5 separate regions of the Homo sapiens genome follow, and all the other regions are linked to region 1. Evidence: promoter capture Hi-C in 16 types of primary human blood cells and fetal thymus (Javierre and others, 2016). All regions are on one chromosome and are shown on one strand. Each heading gives the region's core, a stretch centred on a gene start or on the middle of the fragment in contact. The rest is flanking DNA. Distances are from core to core; before and after follow the strand shown.

Region 1 (2,545 bases), core at 15-2,514:
AGCACCCATGAGGTAGTTGCTACCAATGAGGCTGACAGATGGGGGCAGGTTTGTGTGGCGCCTTAGAGAAAATGGAGAAAAACAAAGAGGTCCCTAACTCTTACCAGAACATGCTGAAGATCTTGGCATTAAAAGAGATCTTCGAGGGTCATTGAATTCAAAGACCCATCTATTCCTGAAGTTCAGGGCCAACATTTTGGGCAAGAAATCTTTCAGCTTACTCATGAAGTCTCCTAGAGCATAGGCAAGTCATGGACCAGCTGTTCTTGGCAATGTATCTCATATTTCAGGACTTACCTATAGCCAGAGTTTGTTATTCGAAAGTCTTTTCCTCTTTGGGAGGTCTAGGTTCTAATGGACTATCCCAGAAGGAATATAATCTATCCCTATTCCACTTCAAGTGTTTGCAGACAGTACCCCCAATCCCTTAAATCTTTTCTTCAAGTGAAATATACCCAATTCCTTCAAAGATTCCTACTGAAACGAAGAGAGGTGCTTTGGCAAAAAGCAGACTCTGGAACCAGACAGCCTAGGTTTGCATCTCAGCTTCACCACATATCAGCTGTGTGACCTGAGGTTTTCTGTGGCTCAGTTTTATCTGTAAAATGGAATGATAAGACCGCCTACCTCAAAGGGGTGCAGTTAGTGCTATGAGAATGTTAGCTGCTGTTATTCAGAAGGGCTCTACTCCACAATACCCTCCACTTAGTCAAGGCCTACCCTAAAATGTATCCTCCCTGAATAGTAATCGATAAATATTTATTGGGTGATAGGTTGCAAGGCGCAGAAACGAGCTTAATACTCAAAGCAGTACAGGCCGGTCATCACCTACATCGAAGCAACCAGAAAGTATCTTTATCCCCATCTAGATTATGTCTGGGTCCTTCCAGACTCCTACGATTAAATTGTATGCATGTGAACAACTGATGAGGTACTTAGATCTCAGTGCTTTGCAGAAAGAAAAGCCGTCTACCATTTTCACCAAATTTCGTAGTACAATTTAAGTATCTCTTGTTATCTCCCCTAGGAGTCTAAAGTGAGCTGGGGAAGGCAGGATTTTGCAAACTGACCGCCAGCATTCCCTCACCTAGTGGACCCCTGCAGGAGCCCCAGGTACTCACGCTGCGGTAGCGGCACCTGGAGCCTTAGCGGCGGGGGTGACGCGAAGAGCCGCCGGGAGCGAGTGCAGGGAGGGCAGGTTAAGAGAGTGTGGGTCCAGTAGCCTCACCGTGACTCAGCGCTTCGCGGCCGGCGGCCTAGAGGAGGCGGGAGGCGGGAGTCTACGGGTCTCGGAGGCCCTGGGGCTCCGCCCTCGGGAATGTCACTCCACTCTCGCTCCGCCCTACGCCTCTCCCAGGCCAGCTTGGCGGCCCTTTGGCCTCCCTGCCTCTCGTGCCGGGAAGAGATGCTCACTCGGGTAATTTAGGCGGCACTTGCTGTGCTCCAGGAGGAAATGTGTGGCCCGGGCAGGTGCTCTGATCGGCGCTCCGGTCGGTCTTGTGGGAAATCTGTTTTTAACTGTAGTCTCCCTGTCACCCAGCCGGCGGAGCTTGGCGGCACGGATTCCAGTGCTGCCTCCACCGCTGGGAGGCACCACTTGACATGACCTGGGACAGGTGGCTCAGTCTCTCTGTGCCTCTGGTTCCTCCTCTATAAAATGAGGATGGTGATGATAATAGTGCCAGCCTTATCGGGCTGAAATGAGAATTAAATGAGCCTGTCACATTCTAAGCACTACAGAATCGTTTGTTCCATAGATAAGTTGCCTGCTGTTTGTCAGTTAGAATTGCGAGAAAAGGAGTGCGGGAGTGGGGACGGGCAGCCATACGTCTTTATTCCTGCCTGAAGAGAAGGCACACTCTAGTGGGGAGATAATTGGTTAAGAGTTTGTATGGTGTTGGAACACAGTGGGCAGGCGTTGGAGAGTTTTTCCAGAAGAATGAGGAGCTGGCACAAGCCAGTGAGGGGATCTAGTTGATTACTAGGATTATTAACTAGTGGTACAGGCATAGCTGCAGTTTCTATTCTCTAAACACCAGAAGGCTCATTGCCTGGTTTTGAGAAAGGAAAGACAGTGGTGTCTCTAAAATAAGGTTGGAAAACTTTGTCTGTGAAGGACCAGATAGTAAATACTTTGACTTTGCAGGCCATGTACATTCTCCAGTTTGCCTTTGTAGCAAGAAAGCAGCCATAGATAACATGTAAATAAATGAATGTGGCTGTAGTTCAATAAAACTTTAATTATGAATACTGAAATATAAATTCATAAAATTCATACAATTTTGAGTTCATATAATTTTTACTTGTCATGAAATATTATCCTTCTTTTGATCTTAAATGTAAAACCACTTAAAATGTAAAAACCATTCTTAGCCCTCTGGCTATACAAAAATAGGTAGTGGGCTACCTACTCATTTTGGCTGCAGGCCTAGTATGCAGATCCCTGCTCTAAAAGAACAGGTTAGTAGAGGAACGAACACTTTTCTCTGGGCTTTTAAAATATCAGTGGGGCTTAAACCCGTCCTCATCACCTTACTTAGGCAGT
Region 2 (2,545 bases), core at 26-2,525, 1.8 Mb before region 1:
TGACTCGTTTACTTATTTTTTCTCCCAAATTCACTTTGACTATATCGAGTTCAGAGCTACTATCATTTCTCTCTTCATGCCTGGAATGTTCTCCTTTATTCTGTCTGCAACCACTACCCATCCTTTAAAATCCAACTAAGCCTCTCCTCCTTTTCCATTGTTTCCAACAAAAACTTACAGGTTCTCCACCTCCTATGAAGTCCTGTCACTCTTACTGCCTCTTAAATACTTTAAGTTTTTCACAGCCAGAGATCAAAACTCATCGTACTCATCTTCAATGCTGTACACAAAGCTGACATCCAATTCTGTCCTCACAGGACTTAGATACCATATAAGGCTTATATTCCCAGCACACAACTCTGGAGTCAGGCTAGATTCCTCACTGCTCCCAAGAAGGTCGTGGCTTTTTTTTTTCTTTTAATGATTCCTTTGCTCATTTTTCCCCTTCCTGTGATGTTCTCCTTTTTGCTCACCACCCGAATCCTACCCATCAAGGCCCCGATAAAGACACACTTTTTCCACAGAGATGATCTGGATCACTTCCATCTTCAACCACCTCCCCTTTAAACTCTTTATCCAGTCTACAATGTATCTTAGTTCTTGTTCAATTCTCTGGCTGTAACATTTTCATTATCGCTTCTGAGAGGTTTGGTTCCTTTCCTTTCTAATTACATTTAAGCATCATGAGGACTGGCTCACCTTTACCTCACAGCACACAATGGTTGGTACTCTAAAACGTTTAGCTCTGTGGATCTCAACCCGGAGCGATCTTGCTTCCAAGAGGACATCTGGCAATATCTGGAGACATCTTTGGTTGTCACACTTGGGGGAGAAGGTGATACTGACAAAATAGAGAGCAAGGATACAGCTAAACCTACAATGCACAGGACAGCCTCCCAAAACAAAGAATCTTCCGGCTCCAAAAGGCAACAGTGCAGCCGTTAAGAAACCCTGGGTTAGCTGAATGACCCAGTGAACCGCGAAACCACAGCCCCCGAGAGGGCGGACGTCTGCAGGTGGAAGGGCTGCGCGGATGAGCCAGCGGAGGGCTGGCAGGTCCGGCCCGGCCACCCCGGGGAGGGGTGGAGGTACAGGACCAACATCCGCGTCACGCAGGGGCTACGAAGTCCTCCAGGGACTCAAAACACCCGCCCCCCGCCGCACTTGCTCCATTCCCTACCTGCAGTGGGAGGCCGACAACGGAAACGCAATGTCAGTTTCCGCGGAAGAGACCCGCGCCCCGAACCTGTAGCCAGAACGCCGAAGCAGTTCTCGCGATACCCTGGGATGTGCTCTCGCGATACGTAGGCGGAGCTTCCGGCCGGTGCTGGGCAACCAAGCTCATGCGCCGTAGCTCTTCAGCTCGGGAAGGCTATATTTAGCAGGTTTCCGGAAGTTGCCGGACTGGCTGTGAGGCGGTCCTGCCTCGCTGCCTTCAGTCCCTAGTGTCTGGGTCCCCGCCCTCCAGCCGCCTTTGAGTCGTGCCTGGGTCCTCGCCCTTGCCTCAGAACCGCGAAGAAAGGAAGCTCGCGTGTTTGCTAGAAAACCTAGTTGGGAGTGCGAGGCAGAGAACGTTCAGCACCTTTGTTCCTCCCGAACCCTCGGGACAGAGGCAGGGTTCTGAGGGCAGGGATTCCCCCTCGTCTTGGCCCCACCGCCCGGGCTGGGCACTAAACTCGGGCCGCGGCGGGGCGAGCGAGGCGGGCTCCGGAGGGAGCTGACGCCTGATGATGGCGCAGGTAGACACACCTGCCCCTTCTCGGGCGGAAATAAAGTCTTGTTTTGTGTTCGTTAAACTTTCGCCGCTAGGCCTCTTATGGCTTCCCCGGAGGCCACTGGTCTGTTTTCAGACGTTCACGTTCCCTCTGCCCCGCAGGTAACCTATAACCATTTTGTCTTTTAGTCCAACATGTTTACCGTGGCTGATGTGTTGAGTCAAGATGAACTGCGCAAAAAGCTATACCAGACGTTTAAGGATCGGGGTATACTGGATACACTCAAGGTATCGGATTTAGGCGTATCTGTGTCAGCTTTTACAAGTGTAACCTGTAACAGGTAGTTCAAATTCAATCAAGGTTTAGGTTTTAATAATCGTATGATACATAGATTGTATTGGTGAATTACATTTTTATATTCCCGAATAACTCTGTATCCTGAAACATTACAGTCTCTTGAAAATGTTTGAGAAAATGTTGAGTTTGAGTCGTCTTAAAGGAGCATATTCAAATAATTAATTGAACTGACAATAAGATAGGAGAAGGAAATATTTGTATAATGAACACAGTAAGATTAGGCTTGTTTTATAAATATGGCTTATAGGTTCCTAAATTAATAAGTGGGTTTGTAATACATTTGGATGAAGGACATTGACACCATATAGAAAATACTAGTGTACTGCTTAATAATAGTTTGGGAAATGAAAAATTTTATCTTTAAACTATATTGAAATGTATGAATGTTTAGTTTGGGCAGAAAATACCTATTAGTATGCTTTATATTTGGATTAACAGCCAGGAGTAGGATTAGCTCAACGTGTTTTCATTGA
Region 3 (2,545 bases), core at 24-2,523, 1.5 Mb before region 1:
CTCTACCCACTAGATGCCAGTAGCACACATACACACCTCCCTCCCCTTCAGTTGTGATGACCAAAAGTGTTTTCAGACATTGCAAAATATGCTGGTGGTGGGGAAGGAGGGGATAGCAAATTGCCCTCAGTTGAAAACCACTGGGGTAGAGAGAAGGGCTGAGCTTGAATGTGTGCCTAACAACTGTGGTAAACCCCAGGGGATTTAGGGAGCCAGAATGGCCCTTCTGAGTTGTAGAAAGTTGGGCTGATATGGTGGGCACTTTTTTCTCCAGCATGGATCAGTCATTGGATGTGGGCTCCTGAAAAGGGGTGTGACATTGCGTAAGGAGGCTCTCTGTGACTGGAGCCGCAAGTTCCTCATTGAAGGGGAATCTGGAACATCCCAGTGTTCATGGCATGTGCTACTCTGCAGTTGTTCATTTACTTCTCACCATTTTCCATTTAATAATAAAATTCTTGAGAATTGAGACCACATATTATTTTGTTGTGTATCATTGAAATCCAGTATGCTACATGGGAATAAATATTTTTAAATAATGAAACGAAATGAGACAATAATTGGGTGGATATTTGTAAACTTAAATATGATAATAAATGGTTTCATTATGCATTTTATTGAGATATGAGAAACTTTCAAGAGATTTATCCATATTTATATTTAGTTATGAGTTCTTTTTTGAGAAGTAACAATTTACTCAGCTGACAGCACTAAACAGTACTGAGCTAATCTTTAACAATGTTTTGATTTCTGTAAATGAGATTATCAGTAATTTAAAAAGAGGATTAGGAAGTTTGTGTGGGATAGAACCAACTAATTGCTGAAATATACACAGAATTCAAGTATTGAAAAGTTTTACTTTAAAAAGATGTGATTATAAAGCATTGTTTCCTATGTATAGCCCTGTAAAATAATACCCATGTGCATCCGGCAGAGGGCACAATTGTACAAAGTATTGGAGAAATGCTTTTAAAAGGAAGTGCATTAATCTCTCAGTCATAGGCTGTAGTGACACATGTCAGTCACATGTAAATGACTCTATACATCTAAAATTCAATAGTGTATTGTTTTTAGATGATATTTCACTACTGCGTTTCCAGCTCTATTCTTTCACATTGTTTTTAAAGTTACTACATCTTCAACAAAATCCGAATTAGGTTAAAATTAATCTCTAAATAATTTTCATTTCAACTGGCTAAAATAATTTGAGGCCAACAATGTGTAAGGCTTTTTTAGAGCATAATTTTACGTATGTTATGTTTTCTGTCCTCACAAGATATTTTATGGGTCATTGACATAGAAGCACAACTACATATACTGTGCAGAATCACCCTTCTACATTAAGAAAAAAAATCAGGTCCTGTCCCTGTATACTGTCAGATTTTTCTTGGCATGGATCTTGTACATGATGAGCTTGCACGGTGAAATGGATGAATCCCTGTCCGAGGGATGGAAGGTCTGTCTTTGTCCCTTCCTGGTTGTGTCACTACTTCTCAGAGCCTGCCTATCTTCATCTGTTAGTAGAGGAACAATGATGCCCACGGGGCCCTCTTCACACATGGGTGTTGTGAGTTCATGGTTTAAGAGCCATGATATCCACTCATTAGATGCATGTGCCATAGGACAGGAGTAACTGAGTAACTGAAGCAACAGCAGGCGTCAAGAAGTGTCCACTGGACGGTGGTCAGATTCTCTAGTTTTCCCTCTGCTAAGAGTTTGACTGAATGAATCTCTGGGTTCTTGGGCAATTCAGGGAAGTGGGGGAGAGTCAAGTGAGGAGTTAAATTTCTGCTAATCTGGGGAGGAGGGCTTTGACTGGTATTACAACCTCATTTTCACCACAACCTCGTAAAGCAAGTCACTGTTCAAATACATTTCTTAATTTAGATATATTTCTAATTTCACTTTGGTGAATTTATTGTTTGATAGTAATCCAAAACTACACAAGGACAGAATAGCTGTATATGTGAAGGTGTTTATTGCAGTATTGTTTATTGATAATTGGTAAAATTGAAAGCAATTTAGGAACATGGACTATTAGGCAGCCATCAAAATGAAAATTATGAATATTATATAGGCACATGGAAAGTATGTGATGAATGATAAGTCAAGTCAAAGCAAAATAAATCATATATTATGCTAATAGCTATGTAAAAGTTGAGAATATATGTGGTTGGGGAACAATGGCAAGAAAGATGGAATGGTAATAACTTCTAACCTGTCCAGGAGTTAGTAGCAGTCTTTGTGTGTGTGTCTCTCTCTTTCCCTCCTAAATCACATTATTGCGGTTATAGTATATTTGTAGAATGAGACACTTCTAAAGAGATTTTTCGTGCTTTGTTTGAAATACAGTAATGCCCAATTTGTCCAGTCTGTTAGGAAAGAAGTGGCCTATTTAAATGACTTATGAATCTTCTTTTCCCCATTAACTGATGTTTACTCCTCTAAACACAAAAACAACAACAACAAAACCATTTTGACTAGAAATCTTTCTAAAATCTATTGTGTACTTTCCTGTCTTCTCCAACAGTTTCCTGAGCACATT
Region 4 (2,545 bases), core at 16-2,515, 1.2 Mb after region 1:
ATTGTTCTTACCATGATTTGTCTTTAGTGAAAATGGGAAACTGGAGAGAGAAAAAATTATGTTTCAAGAACTATGGTCTAACTGTTATTATTATGAATTCTAGTCTTATTGGTTGTTTTTGAAGTTTTTTTCTGCAATTTAGACTGACCCTGCTTATTCCTGTGAAACAATCAGTGATCTGTGACTGCAGCTCAGAAAAAAACAAGAGCAGGGCTGGGCGTGGTGGCTCACACCTGTAATCCCAGCACTTTGGGAGGCCAAGGCGGGTGGATAACGAGGTCAAGAGTTCAAGACCAGCCTGGCCAACATGGTGAAACCCGTCTTTACTAAGAATACAAAAATCAGCCAGGCATGGTAGCGCGTGCCTGTAATCCTAGCTACTTGGGAGGCTGAGGCAGAAGAATTGCTTGAACCTGGGAGGCGGAGGTTGCAGTGAGCCGAGATCGCACCACTGCACTCCAGCCTGGGAGACAGAGCAAGACTCTGTCTCGGAAAAAAAAAAAAAAAAAACAAGAGGGATGGGTAACGTAAAAATTGGGATCAGTATTCTAATTCTGGGCATGTATTGAAATCAGCTAGCAACTGCATATCAGCTTGGTTCCAACAGTTGCCCAGTTCATGGAAAGCCTTCTAATTTAGTTTACTTGGGATAATTTTTTGCTTTACTGTTGTGGAATATATTGCTATTGTACTCTTTGTGTAGGAATGCAGAATAAGCTTACTCAATGTTTTCTTAAACTAAACATTTATTAATCTTCCAGATATCACCTTTTGTTGGAACTCAGAGTTATGAATGGCCCTCGCCATCTGACGCTTTCTGACTGACCTCTTCTCTACCCCAAATACAAGAGACTCTAATAGGGAGGAATGTCATTGCCCCTATTCAACACGAAGAAGTTACAGAAGATGGAGCTTTGTCCCTCTGCAACCCTTAGTATTAAGAGTTCTCCTATAAAAGGGAGAGGGGAAATATTGAACCACAGCAACTCCATCTTGAATAGGGGCTGGGTAGAATAAGGCTGAGACCTACTGGACTGCATTCCCAGATAGTTAGGCATTCTAAGTCACAGGATGAGATAGGAGGTCAGCAAAAGATACAGGTCATAAAGACTTTGCTGATAAAACAGGTTGCAGTAAAGAAGCCAGCTAAAAGCCACCAAAACCAAGATGGCAATGAGAGTGACCTCTGGTCATCCTCACTGCTACACTCCCACCAGTGCCATGACAGTTTACAAATGCCATGGCAACATCAGGAAGTTACCCTATAAGGTCTAAAAGGGGGAGGCACGTATAATTCATCCCTTCTTTAGCATGTAACCAAGAAATAACCATAAAAGGGGCAACCAGCAGCCCTCAGGGCTGCTCTGCTTGTGGAGTAGCCATTCTTTAATTCCTTTACTTTCCTAATAAACTTGCTTTCACTTTGTAAAAAGAGAGAGAAAAAAAAAGCTGTCATTCTTGTACTTTAACTTTGCATATGTAAGATTCATCTCTGCATCTTCCAGGAGAATCAACACACTTTCCCTCTGCATCCTTCAGGAGAATCAACACACTTTCCCACAGTATCCCCATCCTCCCCAAATAAAACCATTTCTATGCACATGCCACCAGCATTAACATGGCACATTTCAAATCAACGCAGTATGATCGTGGAACAATCACCTGCAAAGACCACAAGTACTCCAAACTACCTTTCAAAATGCATGAAAATTAGCAATTAGGGTAAACTGAATCATTACAGAAAAAGTACAATGGTCCTATCCTAACTGGTGTGCGTGGGCCCTGGTACTCACTCAGCTTTGCATAGCTTCTGCCAAGCTTCATGAAATTTCACAGGGTCCTCGGTTTCAGTGATCTTCTCCAGATCAATGGAGTCTATGTACTAAAAAACATCCAACAGATAAAAGGAGTATTTAAGAAAAATAAACACTCAAAAATACTGCAGCCATCTAATACTATGACACATTATTCAATAATTACTTATTATGCAAACACTGTACTGGGCACTAGGGATAGAAAAACAGTCTCTGTTTTGCGGCTCTTATAATCTTTCAGAAAGATTACAAAACCAGATAAACGGGCATCCACACTATACTGTGATAATGGCTATGACAGACAAAGAAGAGAACGATGCAGAAGTAACTTGGGGTCAACCGCGTGGGGTGGCACGTGCCTGTAGCCCCAGCTACTTGGGAAGCTGAGGTGGGAGGATCCTTTGAGCCTGGGAGGTCCGGGCTGCAATGATCCCTGATTGTAACACTGCATTCCAGCCTGAGTGACAGAGTGAGACACTGTCTCAAAAAAAAATTTAAAAAAAAAGCAACTAGGACGTCACTAGAACTGAACACTGGAGGAAAGACAGGAAGGATTGACGTCAAGGAAGAGCTCTGGGGAGGTAATGTTCAAGAAGCCAGCCGAGAGGAGAGCAGAAGCAAGATAAGCACGTGTGTGATGGGAGGCAGCAGGAGACAAAGAGAGGAGGGGAGAAGGGTATGAAATCTCCAGCAGGCCGGGCGCATTGGCTCATGCCTGTAATCCCAGCACT
Region 5 (2,545 bases), core at 20-2,519, 1.2 Mb after region 1:
CAGTCCCAATAGTCCAGTCCTCAGTTTGTAGGTGATATAAGGCAGAGTCAGGGAAAATTCTATAAGTGTGGAAGTGTACAAGTGTTTCAAAGCTGTAAAGTGCTCTTAAAATCCACCTGGAACCCCTTCCTGTGAGTTACAATCAGCATTAGATCAATGTCCCTTGGAAATGTCCTACTTATTTCATGGAACTCTTTCCAGTAGAAATCAATCTCCTTGGCAATTTTAAATCATGGCAGTTACAAAAAGTTTGAAGTATTTCCAACTGAACAAGAGTAAGTCGAGTGTTCTCACAAGTTTTTCGAATGATCACGAAATATATTTGGTAAGGAAAAGGATAATGAGAAATAAAAAGCAGACACAGGACCAACAAATAATGAAAGAGCTGAAAAAATGACCATGTTACTCAATATTGATTTGCCAAATAAAACCACAAATTACTGAGTATCTTCTTTCCACTTCTTAAACCTGCTTCTGAAGCAATACTTCCATTCATTCATTCATGTATTCAAATATTTAAGCTGCTAATATGTAAAGACATCAGAAGGACTTCAATGGCCATACCGTAATTTTTTAAACTATGTAATATTGTCCTTCTATGACAGCATTTTTTCTTTTTTACAGACAGGATCTCACTCTGTCACCCAGGCTGGAGTGCAGTGGCACAATCATGGCTCACTGTTGCCTCAACCTCCCAGGCTTAAGGAATCCTCCCACCTCAGCCTCTACAGTAGCTGGGACTACAGGCATGTACCATCACACCTGGCTGATTTTTTAAATTTTTCAGTAGAAATGTCTTGCTGTGTTGACCAGGCTGGTATCAAACTCCTCACCTCAAGCAATCCTCCTGCCTCGGCCTCCCAAAGTGCTGGGATTACAGGCATGAGCTACCGCACAGGGCAGCATTTATTTTTTCTGGATATGAAGAAAGTTATTTTTTAAAGCCTAAATATGCAACTAAATTGAAAAGAATCCTCTATATCTAAGCTTTATGAAATGTGAACTGTGAGCAAATATAATTCTACATTGGAGGGAAAATATAATCTCAGGGGGAAAAAAATCCAAGCTTACGACTCTGAACCATGAAGCAACTGTCGAGATGGACCTTTACTGGATCTTGCCCTTAATTATGGGGTTCATGCAGTCTTAAGCCTGAGTTTCAAAAACCATTAATAATTACCCTTAAATGGCCAACAAAAGGAAATTTTCATAATCAGGGTGGCGTGCCCGTAAAGACTATAAAAGTGTCATGATTCTGCTCAGCTCTTCAAACTCCTCTTTGATTCTTCTAGCTGTTTCACTATTGGGCAACCAGGTTAGTGTGATTTTGGTACTACCTAGAGCTCCTTCTGTTTGCATTAATACTCTGCTTCCTTTTAGAATGGTGTGAAAGATAATGGTCTGGAGAGAAGGTGAGTTTATGCCATCTGGAGATATTCCCTGTAACTTAGAAGCTAGAAGCTGTGGTCAAGTATTCTTCAAGACCACAGCCTGCAGAGTGCAGATCAGGTACATAAAAAGTGTAGAATGTCATTAATTACTAATAAAAATGTTTGGCTCCAGGGACCATCTCCTAACAGATGTACTCTAAGAACAGACATTTAACATACTATCTAAGATGTCTTTTTTTTTTTTTTTTTTTTTTTGCAGCGGAGGCTCGCTCTGTCACCCAGGCTGGAGTGCAGTGGCATCGCACTCACTGCAACCTCCGCCTCCCGGGTTCAAGCGATTCTCCTGCCTCGGTCTTCCAAGTAGATGGGACTATAGGCACGCACCACCACGCCTGGCTAATTTTTGTATAGAGACAGGGTCTCACCATGTTGGCCAGGCTTCCATGGTCTCGAACTCCTGACTTCAAGTGATCCACCCTCCTTGGCCTCCCAAAGTGCTGGGATTACAGGCATGAGCTACCGTGCCTGGCCTAAGATGCTTATTTTTTAAACATGTTAGTAGTTACTGGTGCCATTCCGACCCCGACATTCTCTTTTCCTTATTCTTCCCCATTTATGCCAAGGAAATGGCCCAATGGCACTAAAATCCTGCAGACAACCCTCAGCACAAAACTGTACTTCAGCTTTTTGGTAAGTTTATTTTCTTCCCAATTTATAAGACACCAGAATGAGTACTAAAAAGTCTCCTGAGGAACTGAAGAGGATTTTTGAAAAATATGCAGCCAAAGAAGGTGATCCAGACCAGTTGTCAAAGGATGAACTGAAGCTATTGATTCAGGCTGAATTCCCCAGTTTACTCAAAGTAAGTGGCCATCCGCAGAGCCCACTTAATGGGACTGATGGTGGGAGGGGAGGGAGGGAGGGGAGAGGACTCCGGTAGAGCCTTATAGGGACCGTCGCTTGAGGGAGGACACATGCAGGTGGGGTTTCTTCCCCTTAAGTCAGGCCACATTTCAGAAGGCAAGCTCTCAGAAAACAAGGGCCAAGCCTTCTATCCCTCCTGCAGCCTCAGCACAGGACTCTGCAGGACTAGCCATAATAAATGGAAGCAATGCCAAGTTATGCCTGGAAGACCCACAAGTCACCAAGCAAAC

Evidence for each region. Contacts are between HindIII fragments. The CHiCAGO score rates a contact against its expected background, and 5 or more counts as called.
Region 2: a contact is called between the fragment with the promoter of TRAPPC2 here and the fragment with the promoter of PIR in region 1, in 1 of 17 cell types (neutrophils). The highest score is 5.8, in neutrophils.
Region 3: a fragment that was not itself captured here is called in contact with the fragment with the promoter of PIR in region 1 in 1 of 17 cell types (neutrophils); the score reaches 6.1 in neutrophils.
Region 4: a contact is called between a fragment that was not itself captured here and the fragment with the promoter of PIR in region 1, in 7 of 17 cell types (total CD4 T cells, naive CD8 T cells, activated CD4 T cells and 4 more). The highest score is 9.1, in total CD4 T cells.
Region 5: the fragment with the promoter of S100G here is called in contact with the fragment with the promoter of PIR in region 1 in 7 of 17 cell types (naive CD4 T cells, total B cells, total CD4 T cells and 4 more); the score reaches 9.0 in naive CD4 T cells.

Annotation. Positions count from the first base shown.
Region 1 is chrX:15,492,069-15,494,613 of GRCh38, forward strand. It overlaps PIR (pirin), which reads right to left and starts at 1,265. Exons shown (of 10, transcript NM_001018109.3): 1 at 1,122-1,265. RefSeq lists enhancers at 675-1,177, 1,178-1,681. The HindIII fragment of the contact is 4,696 bases long and covers 1-2,545 here.
Region 2 is chrX:13,733,345-13,735,889 of GRCh38, forward strand. TRAPPC2 (trafficking protein particle complex subunit 2) reads right to left here and starts at 1,276. Exons shown (of 6, transcript NM_001011658.4): 1 at 1,181-1,276; 2 at 700-841. OFD1 (OFD1 centriole and centriolar satellite protein) reads left to right here and starts at 1,404. Exons shown (of 23, transcript NM_003611.3): 1 at 1,404-1,739; 2 at 1,904-2,002. The coding sequence starts at 1,728. RefSeq lists enhancers at 778-1,977, 1,746-2,317. The HindIII fragment of the contact is 7,868 bases long and covers 1-2,545 here.
Region 3 is chrX:14,038,583-14,041,127 of GRCh38, forward strand. No RefSeq gene overlaps it. Among named protein-coding and RNA genes, the nearest start is that of GEMIN8, 10 kb to the left of the region's middle. The HindIII fragment of the contact is 7,534 bases long and covers 1-2,545 here.
Region 4 is chrX:16,676,569-16,679,113 of GRCh38, forward strand. It overlaps CTPS2 (CTP synthase 2), which reads right to left. Exons shown (of 19, transcript NM_175859.3): 10 at 1,794-1,882. Among named protein-coding and RNA genes, the nearest start is that of S100G, 28 kb to the left of the region's middle. The HindIII fragment of the contact is 1,101 bases long and covers 716-1,816 here.
Region 5 is chrX:16,648,889-16,651,433 of GRCh38, forward strand. It overlaps S100G (S100 calcium binding protein G), which reads left to right and starts at 1,270. Exons shown (of 3, transcript NM_004057.3): 1 at 1,270-1,315; 2 at 2,111-2,253. The coding sequence starts at 2,119. All of the region lies in intron 13 of CTPS2 (CTP synthase 2), which reads right to left. The HindIII fragment of the contact is 12,685 bases long and covers 1,065-2,545 here.